Regions from separate parts of the Homo sapiens genome. Here region 1 is linked to region 2. Evidence: promoter capture Hi-C in human tissues and cell types (Jung and others, 2019). All regions are on one chromosome and are shown on one strand. Each heading gives the region's core, a stretch centred on a gene start or on the middle of the fragment in contact. The rest is flanking DNA. Distances are from core to core; before and after follow the strand shown.

The links. Contacts are between HindIII fragments. The study calls those that stand out against the background at their distance.
Region 1: a fragment that was not itself captured here is called in contact with the fragment with the promoter of MAD1L1 in region 2 in 1 of the 25 tissues and cell types used here (dorsolateral prefrontal cortex).

What each region holds. Positions count from the first base shown.
Region 1 is chr7:1,149,653-1,154,307 of GRCh38, reverse strand. It overlaps ZFAND2A (zinc finger AN1-type containing 2A), which reads left to right. Exons shown (of 5, transcript NM_182491.4): 5 at 1,084-1,401. The coding sequence ends at 1,239. Among named protein-coding and RNA genes, the nearest start is that of ZFAND2A, 8.2 kb to the left of the region's middle. The HindIII fragment of the contact is 5,994 bases long and covers 117-4,655 here.
Region 2 is chr7:2,230,992-2,235,275 of GRCh38, reverse strand. It overlaps MAD1L1 (mitotic arrest deficient 1 like 1), which reads left to right and starts at 2,331. Exons shown (of 19, transcript NM_001013836.2): 1 at 2,331-2,404. MRM2 (mitochondrial rRNA methyltransferase 2) reads left to right here. Exons shown (of 3, transcript NM_013393.3): 3 at 1-1,081. The coding sequence ends at 154. RefSeq lists enhancers at 946-1,478, 2,213-2,342, 2,128-2,422 and silencers at 2,057-2,435, 2,413-2,832. The HindIII fragment of the contact is 16,776 bases long and covers 1-4,284 here.

The DNA of each region.
Region 1 (4,655 bases), core at 1,864-4,363, 1.1 Mb after region 2:
AGGGCCACCCCCGGCTGCTGGAACCCTCCCCACTCTCCTCACTGCCTTCCCCTCTTGGAGTTCTGACTCCTAGGACTTTATATCGCTGCCTACATCCTGGCACCAAAAAAAAAAAAAAAAAAAATGACCGGTGGGTACTGGGACATGATAGATATTCCCTTGATGGGGACAACCTCCACTGTCCCAGGGCTCCTGGAGCCAGTGCCTCTGTGGGGCTTGCCTGTCATCTGTGCTTGGCCTCCTTCCCTCCCGCTCCCTGCTTCCTGGCTGCCTCTCTCTGTTGTCCTCCCAGCAGCACCTCCGGGCCATCTTCACGGGAATCCCCAGCTTCAATGCTGACCGGCTTTTTTTTTTCTTTCTTTTTAAAGGGACGAACTCTTGCTCTGTCGCCCAGGCTGGAGTGCAGTGGCACAATCTCAGCTCACTGCCGCCTCTGCCTCCTCTAGCAATTCTCCTGCCTCAGCCTCCCAAGTAGCTGGGATTACAGGCACCACGCCACCATGCCTGGCTAATCTTTTATATTTTAGTGGAGATGGGGTTTCACCATGTTGCCCAAGCTTGTCTCGAACTCCTGAGCTCAGGCAATCCACCCATCTTGGCTTCCCAAAGTGCTGGGATGACAGGCGTGAGCCACTGGGTCCAGCCCCATGTTCTTCTTACCTGCACTGAGATGGTCAAATGAAACTTTGCATCTGTACTCTGTGCAGACAGGAACTGTGTCCAGTTTAAATGGGAATGTTCTTACCGGAGGCTGTTAAAGAATTTAAGGCCAGCACAGTGGCTCACACAGGTAATCTTAGCACTTTGGGAGGCCAAGGCGGGAGGATCACCTGAGGCTGAGTTTGAGACCAGCCTGGGCAGCATGGCAAGACCCCATCTCTGTGAAAATAGACAAAATTAGCTGGACGTGGCGGTGTGTGCCTGTAGTACCAGGTACTAGGCTGAAGCAGGAGAATCACTTGAGTCCAGGAGGCAGAGGTTGCAGTGAGCCAAGATCAAGCCACTGCACTCCAGCCTGGGCAACAGAGCGAGACCCTGTCTCCAAAAAAAGAATTGCTTGTTGAAGTCACTTTGCTCTCTTAGATTTTTACATACCGTTGCTCAAAAGAGGGCTGCAAGAAGAAAGAGATGCTGCAGATGGTATGTGCCCAATGTCACGGCAACTTCTGTATCCAGCACAGACACCCTTTGGACCACAGCTGCAGACACGGGAGTCGCCCCACCATCAAAGCTGGGTGAGAAGAGACTCCGCTGCGATGGCTCGGAGCACGCAGTAGCATGCGTGGAAGCAGCTTACACTCTAGTGGGAAGTGGAGCCCCATTGAGCACCATCCCACACTGGCTGCTGATCTTGTTTGTTGAGGGAGATGGGACTATAATAAAATTGAATGCTGAAGTTGATTCTAGTTGTTCTCATTGCCCACTGCTGCCGTCACCAAGTACTAAAAACTGGGTGGCTCAAACCATAGAAATCGGTTCTTTCACAGTTCTGGGGGCTGGAGGTCCAGGCGCAGGATGTCGGCAGGGCCAGCCCCTTCTGAGGGCTGCGGGGAGCATCGGCTGCGTCTCCCCAGCATCTCGGGGCTCGTCAATGCACAACCCCCGTCTCCACCTTCATCTTCACATGGCATTCTGTGTGTGTCCCGACTTCCCCTTTTTGTAAGGATGCTGGTCATGTGATCCCACAGTCGTGACCTCTGAAAAGACCCTGTGTCCACAGAAGGTCACACTCTGAGGTCCCGAGTCTAGGGCTCCAGCATGTCTTGTGGGGACATGATTCAACTCGTAATGCTAATGTTTGTCAAATCGAGAAGCATCTGTATTTGCCTCAACTGTTGCACCTGGTGGTGTCTGGCGTCCATCCCTGGGCCAGGCCAGTGGTAGTTGCTTACCTGCAGGAAGCTGTGTGGGTTCTTGCGGTCAGCACATGGAGGCTGAGCTGATCCATCCACCCTCTCTGTAGGTGCTCACCCATGACAGTCTCTGAATCCAGGCCGTTGGGAGATTTCCTCACCCTGGCTCCTGGCGGGCTGGCCCAGCGACTCGGGTACTGGTTCACCCGGCTCATGTGAACGCAATTTCGTCTGTGTGGGGTGCTGCAGCTCTTGGTTGGTGAACACGGAAAGGTTGCTGTGTGTAACTGCACAGTGTGACGCGATGCTCCAGTGGTGCGACTTCGTCAGGATGGATGAAGGACACAGGACTGGGACCCCAAGTTACAGAAGCAGCTCGCTCCAGCACAACCTTTCGGCAGCAGCAGCATCATACAGCTGGTTTCTGAAACACCTTTTCTGCCCTCCAAGATCCTCTGACATGATCAACATTCCTGCATCATCAAGACAAACCTGAAAAGAGCTGTTCTTTGTTCTTTTTGGTGGAAAGTGATGAGGTCCTTCCCGTTTGCACTGCCGTGTGGGTTATTTCCACTCTAGGTAACTTCCGCCTTCAGGTACTCCCCATACTTCTAATGGCCCAGCAGCACCTCCGGGCCATCTTCACGGGAATCCCCAGCTTCAATGCTGGCTGGCTTTGCTTTTTTTTTTTTAAAAGGGATGAAGTCTTGCTCTATTGCCCAGGCTGGAGTGCAGTGGCACAATCTCAGCTCACTGCCACCTCTGCCTTCCAGGTTCTAGCAATTCTCCTGCCTCAGCCTCCCGAGTAGCTGGGATTACAGGCACCAAACTGCCATGCCCGGCTAATCTTTTATATTTTAGTGAAGATGGTTAGCCTGAAACCTTGAAACTTCCCCACTGAAATACACAAACTAGGCCGGGCGTAGTGGCTCACACCTGTAATCTCAGCACTTTGGGAGGGCAAGGTGGGTGGATCACCTAAGGTCAGGAGTTCAAAACCAGCAAACACCAGACAGCTCACTTGCGCTCTTCACCATGTCACCTCTGTAACGATGTGACTATCTGGCCAAGAAGGGGGAAGGACATCCACCTGCCTGGCCGAGGGTTCTTGTCCAGCGGCGGCCACAGGTGCTACTCGCATTGTTTGAGGGCACAGCTGCGTGCCCGTTCCTGACCTCCAAGGGGCTGGGACACTGTGTGAGAGAAGGTGTGTCTTCCTGGACCACTTGTCCCTGCCACGGTCAACTTCTTAAAACAGGCACAGTTCAGCCAGGCGCAGTGGCTCACGCTTGTAATCTCAGCACTTTGGGAGGCGGAGGCAGGCGGATCACCTGAGGTCAGGAGTTTGAGACCAGCCTGGTCAACATGGTGAAACCCCATGTCTACTAAAACAAAAATTAGCCAGGTGTGGTGGTGGTACACGCTTGTAATCCTAGCTACTCAGGAGGCTGAGGCAGGAGAATCACTTGAACCTGGGAGGCGGAGGTTGCAGTGAGCCCAGATTGTGCCACTGCACTCCAGCCTGGGCAACAGAGCAAGACTGAATCTCAAAAAAAAAAAAAAAAAAGGCACAGTTGTCAGCAGCCAGCAAGCCCGAGAGCTGCTTTGCACCTGGATCTATTTCAGCACCAACAAGAAAGTTGCAAAATGCCACCTGTTGAAGATGGCTCTGTCCAGTGATGAAGCAGTGGAAACTTCCAGAAGTGACTTAAAACTACAATGGCAGGAACTAGGGCTTCCACAAGTGCCAGAGATTACAGGAGACTGGGTTTTATAGGTTTGAAGAGCAGAAAGCCAAAACGGGAGGGAAGGGGGGTAGTGAGGTGCACAGTCCTTTGTGGCTCAGATGACAGATGCGGCCTTCGTGGCCTGACACTTTCCACCACCGTCTGATTTTGTGAAGTGATGAACACGGGTAACGTAAATACTGGTGTTAGATTTATACTGACAGCCGCTCTGCTCATCAAGAGTGCAGTGATTTCCTGGGAACTTAGGGGGTGTCAGGGAATAAGGTGAAACAAAATTCCCCCAAGTTCTGTCCTGTTCTGAACTGCCCTGGCCATCCAGCTGTGCCCACCAGATGTCCCGCTGAGACAGTTCACAAAAACACAAGCCACTGCCTTTTTTTTTTCTGCTTTCACCATCTAAAAATGTAACGGGAAGGGTTTGTATTCTGTTGGCGTTCTGCAAAAAGGTGGTCAGACCTGCAGTCAGGGGAACGATGTTTCTGTCGATGACGGACCGTGTATATGTTGGTGATCGCAGAACATACTGTATTTTCACTATATCTTTTTTTTTTAATCTGACAAACTTTTTTGCTTTTATTTTAATTGACATAATTGTACATATTGATGGGGTACATTGTGGTATTTGGAGGAGTTTGAGACCAGCCTGGCCAACATGATGAAACCCTGTCCCTACTAAAAATACAAAAATTAGCCGGGCGTGGTGGTGCATGCCTGTAATCCCAGCTACTTGGGAGGCTGAGGCAAGAGGATCGCTTGAACCCGGGAGGCAGAGGTTGCAGTGAGCAGAGATCGTGCCATTGCACTCCAGCCTGGGTGATAGAGCAAGACTCCATCTCAAAAAAAAAAAAAAAAACTTAAGAACAAGCTAGTCACCCTGCAGTCCCACAGAACACTGGGATGGAATCCTCCCAGCAAGCTGGACCGCACCACGCCTAGGTTTGGAAGCACAAACACGCAGCGCCGTGCCGCAGTGGCCTACAGCATTCAGCGCAGTAGCACTCTGCACGCATTTGTAGCCTGGGAGCCACAGGCTATGCCCTACAGCCTGGGTGTG
Region 2 (4,284 bases), core at 1,082-3,581:
GGCTGGAAGTCAAAGCCGTCGGTTACAGAGGAGACTGACAGAGGAATTCCAGAATGTAAGGATCATCAAACCTGAAGCCAGCAGGAAAGAGTCATCAGAAGTGTACTTCTTGGCCACACAGTACCACGGAAGGAAGGGCACTGTGAAGCAGTGAGGATTTCTTGTGCCATTTTCATAATGGTCATTAGCTCCTTTTAAGCTAGAAACGTAGCCTGAGCTCCTGAAGAGTTCCTGGGAGATTTGAGCTGATTTTGGAGATGGAGCAGGACAAGTGGGGAGTCTCTCTCTCTCTTTCTCTCTCTCTCTTTTTAACCAAAAAGAGATGACAAAACTAAGTTCAGGGGCCATGGAAAATGAAAAAGTCCGCTATATTGTGATTTGGGAAGAGAAAGTTATCAAGAGAAAGAGGTGAGGATGGAAGGATGGAGAAAAACAGACTGTGGGAAGGATCAGAAGGAATCCGCCGAGGCAGGGATGGGTGTGCCCATGTGTGCCTTGACGGGACTTCATCTTATAGACTGTTAAACTGTCACACACAAACAGGCTTTCCACCCCTGCTCTGAGAGCACCACGCACAGATTTCCAGTTCTTAGTGTGGCTGTTTAAAGTAGAAAATCTGGGGGCTGGGTGAGGCCACTCATGCCTGTAAACCCAGGGCTTTAGAAGGCTGAGGCTGGGGGATTGCTTGAAGTCAGGAGTTCAAGACCAACCTGGGCAACATAGCAACACCCCCCATGTCTACAAAAATGAAAAACCAAAAAGCAAACCAAAAGAAAAATCTGAAATTTCCATCTGGGGATTAACTTCTGTCTTTCTGGTGAACAATATAGCAATTCACGCATTCTTCAAGCAGCAAAAGTTCCCGGAACAATTAGGGAAGACGTATGGTCTGAATTTATCCAGGCAGTGGGTCTGCTTTGGTTTTTGCTGGAAATTTATATCAGTGTCTGGGCTCCCAAGAACATAAATGTAATTGCCAAAGCAAGCAGTGATGTGGTGTGTTTATTTTCTTTTACTCATCTAGGAACTTGACGCAGCTTTATATTTAATAAAATAATAGAGATTGCATTATTTTAAGGTACTTTCATGCTTTGAAGTTTTGTTTTTTTTAAACTGGCTTCCTCAAAGCCATTTCCTGGAGGTGTACTCATCCCTCAAGAAGAGTTTGTTGACTATGATTAAATTCCAAGGACCAGTGGGGGAAGTCTGGAAACCCAGGAATCTCCATCAGGAATCTGGGGCTCTGTCCAGCTCCCCGAAGGAAACTGCGGGTCAGATGTTTTGATTTTTTTTTTTCTTTGAGAAACAGAATCTCACTCTGTCACCCAGGCTGGAGTGCAGTGAAGTGATCTTGGCTCACTGTAAGCTCCACTTCCCGGGTTCACGCCATTCGGCCTCAGCCTCCCGAGTAGCTGGGACTACAGGCGCCCATCACCACGCCCGGCTATTTTTTTTTTTTTTTTTTGTATTTTCAGTAGAGACGGGGTTTCACCGTGTTAGCCAGGATGGTCTCGATCTCCTGACCTCGTGATCCGCCTGCCTCGGCCTCCCAAAGTGCTGGGATTACAGGCGTGAGCCACCGCGCCCGGCCGCCAGATGTTTTGACTTTTCATTTTATTTCTGGTTGCAGTCAGGTTGTTAAGTCCAGGGACTCTTGCCCTACTCCACCTCGTTCTCTTATTCCATTTCATTCCCGGGGCACACAACTTGGAAGTCTTTCTCTGAAAGAAGGAAAATTCATTGCAGACCCTTAGGAACAGCATCTTCTTAGAGGGAAGCCAGGGGCTGGGCAGAGACGGGAGGAGGAGAGGAAGAGAATATGGAAACGAGTAAGGCACACTCTTCTCAGGAAGGCTCCAATTTGAAGGATAGACAAAGGTTACCATAATAATGGTGGGGCCTGACCTCACCCCATTGGATGCTGTGCCCTGGCTTGCAGAGCACTGGGAAGGTAGCCTAGTAGCATAAATTGCATTTCTAGTGGGCCCAGAAAAAAGCAAAATAACGGATTGATTCAAGCTGATACTGAGTAGCAAAATTTTGGGAAGAGTCAACGGTGCAAGTTTGTCCGAGGAGGCTGCCGTGGGCGCGGCTATTCCACACATTACGGCGCGAGGCGAAAGCCTTAGTGGAAGCGCGTCCTGCGCAAAGCCGGGGGGCCCCCGACTGCGCCTTGGCTCAGCCTTCGGTTCCGAGTCCTTTCCGTGCGGAGTCTCCCAGGGGTGGCGGCTCCGGGTGCGGACGCGGAGTCCCCAGGATCAGCCGGTGCGCAGACTCGGTTCTTTACGGCCCGATTGCCACGCAGGTCTCGCGAGAGCGCAGGCGCAAGTGTCGCGATAAATGGGCGCCGGCGGAGCGGAGGGAGATCCGAGCGGCGGCGGCAAGCTGGCTGCGAGCGGCTGAGGTAAGCGGCCCGGCTCGCGCGGGCGGCGGGGTCCCGGGGTCCCGGGGGTCCCGGGAATGGCAAGGGAGGGGCCGAGGGCCCGGACCGGGTGTGCTCGCCAGGGTGGGGCACAACGACCCAGACCCCGTGCCTCAGGACCCCGCGCCCGCCCCGTCTCCCATGGGCGCGCTCTCCTCTCTGTGCTCTCCCCTCCTCTCCCCACTCCCCTGTCCCCACTCCCCCTTTGGGCTGTGCTGGGGACAGCGGGCCCCTCGCCTGGGTCTCCGCAGCCGTCCCTTGTGCCAGGGCGGGCGGCCGAGGGGCGCGTGCTCGTGGTCCCAGCCCCGGGGTCCCGCTGCCTACCGTGTGGGTCCCCGGGCTAGGGTGCCGGCGCGCCGAGGAAGGGGCCTGAGCTGGCGCCTGGTGGAGAAGTCGGGGCTGCAGGGGCTCTTGGCATCCTGGTGGCTCGCGCCGGTCCGCTCTCAGGAAGGGGGCGTGTGGGCCCGGTTTCCCCTCGGGGATGGCAAGGGCCACCCTGATCTCGTTTGGGCAATGGAGGAATTGGGCTGTGGAGCCTCCTTCCAGGCGGGCCTGCCTCTGCGGGGCTGGCAGCCTGGGGAGCTCAGGCCTCTGCTTGCACCAGGCCAAGGTTCTTGTTAAATGGAAACTCAGAAACTGTGCAGCTGCAGAAGTTCTACCTTTGGCTTTTAAACGCGCTTGGCTGTTCCCTAGTTGTGGCTGGTGGGCCGGCCTGCCATGAGCCCATAGTAAGCGCCGGTGTTGGGGGTGCAAAGTTCTTTACTGCGGTTTGTCTTCAGCCTTCCAAAGCCAGACAGACCCAAGTTCCAATCTCCGTTCTGTAACTTTTTGAAGCTTCGGTTTCATCATCTCTAGAATCTGTGTAAAAAGACCTAATTCACCACCCTGTTGAGACTGAGCTTACAAATATAGTGCTGGTCAACCTGCAGCCGTATTCCCATCATCTAGCGGTGGAAGACTTGAGGGATATTGGCCCCGTTCCCCACAACTTTGCAAGTAGATTTCACTGTCATGAGTTTACAGATGAGGAAACTGAAGTTCAAGAAGTCTCGGTGCTCGGAAATGTCAGATACCTTTCTTTCTGATACCTAGTTGAAAATAGTAGTAGTACTTATTAATGTCACTAGAAATAAACAATGAAAATGAGCACAGCTGTGATGATCATCATCTTTACTGTCACTGTTGCATGCCTCGTTTCTGATTCCCAGAGGCCAGATTTTTTTTTTAATTAATTATTATTATTTTTTGAAACGGAGTCTTGCTCTGGCACCCAGGCTGGAATGCAGTGGCGCGATCTCAGTTCACTGCAACCTCCATCTCCTGGGTTCAAGAAAATCTCCTGTCCCAGCCTCCGGAGTAGCTGGGATTACAGGTGCACGCCACCACATCTGGCTTTAGTAGAGATGGGGTTTCACCATGTTGGCCAGGCTGGTCTCGAACTCCTGACCTGTGGTGATCTGCCCATCTTGGCCTCACAAAGTGCTGGGATTACAGGCATGAGCAACAGTGCCTGGCTTATGTTTATTTATTTATTTATTCATTCATTTATTTATTTTGAGACACTGTCTCACCCCGTTACCCAGGCTGGAGTGCAGTGGTGCGGTCTCAGGTCACTGCAACCTCTGCCTCCCAGTTTCAAGCGATTCTTGTGCCACAGCCTCCTGAGTAGCTGGGATTACAGGCGCACACCACCACACCCGGCTAGTTTTTGTATTTTATTAGAGGTGGGGTTTTGCCATGTTGGCCATTCTGGTCTTGAACTCCGGACCTGCCTCCGCCTCCCGAAGTGCTGGGATTAGAGGCGTGAACCACCCTGCCTGGGCAAGAGGCCAGACTTTGCTGTGAGTGCTCCTGGTAGGTAG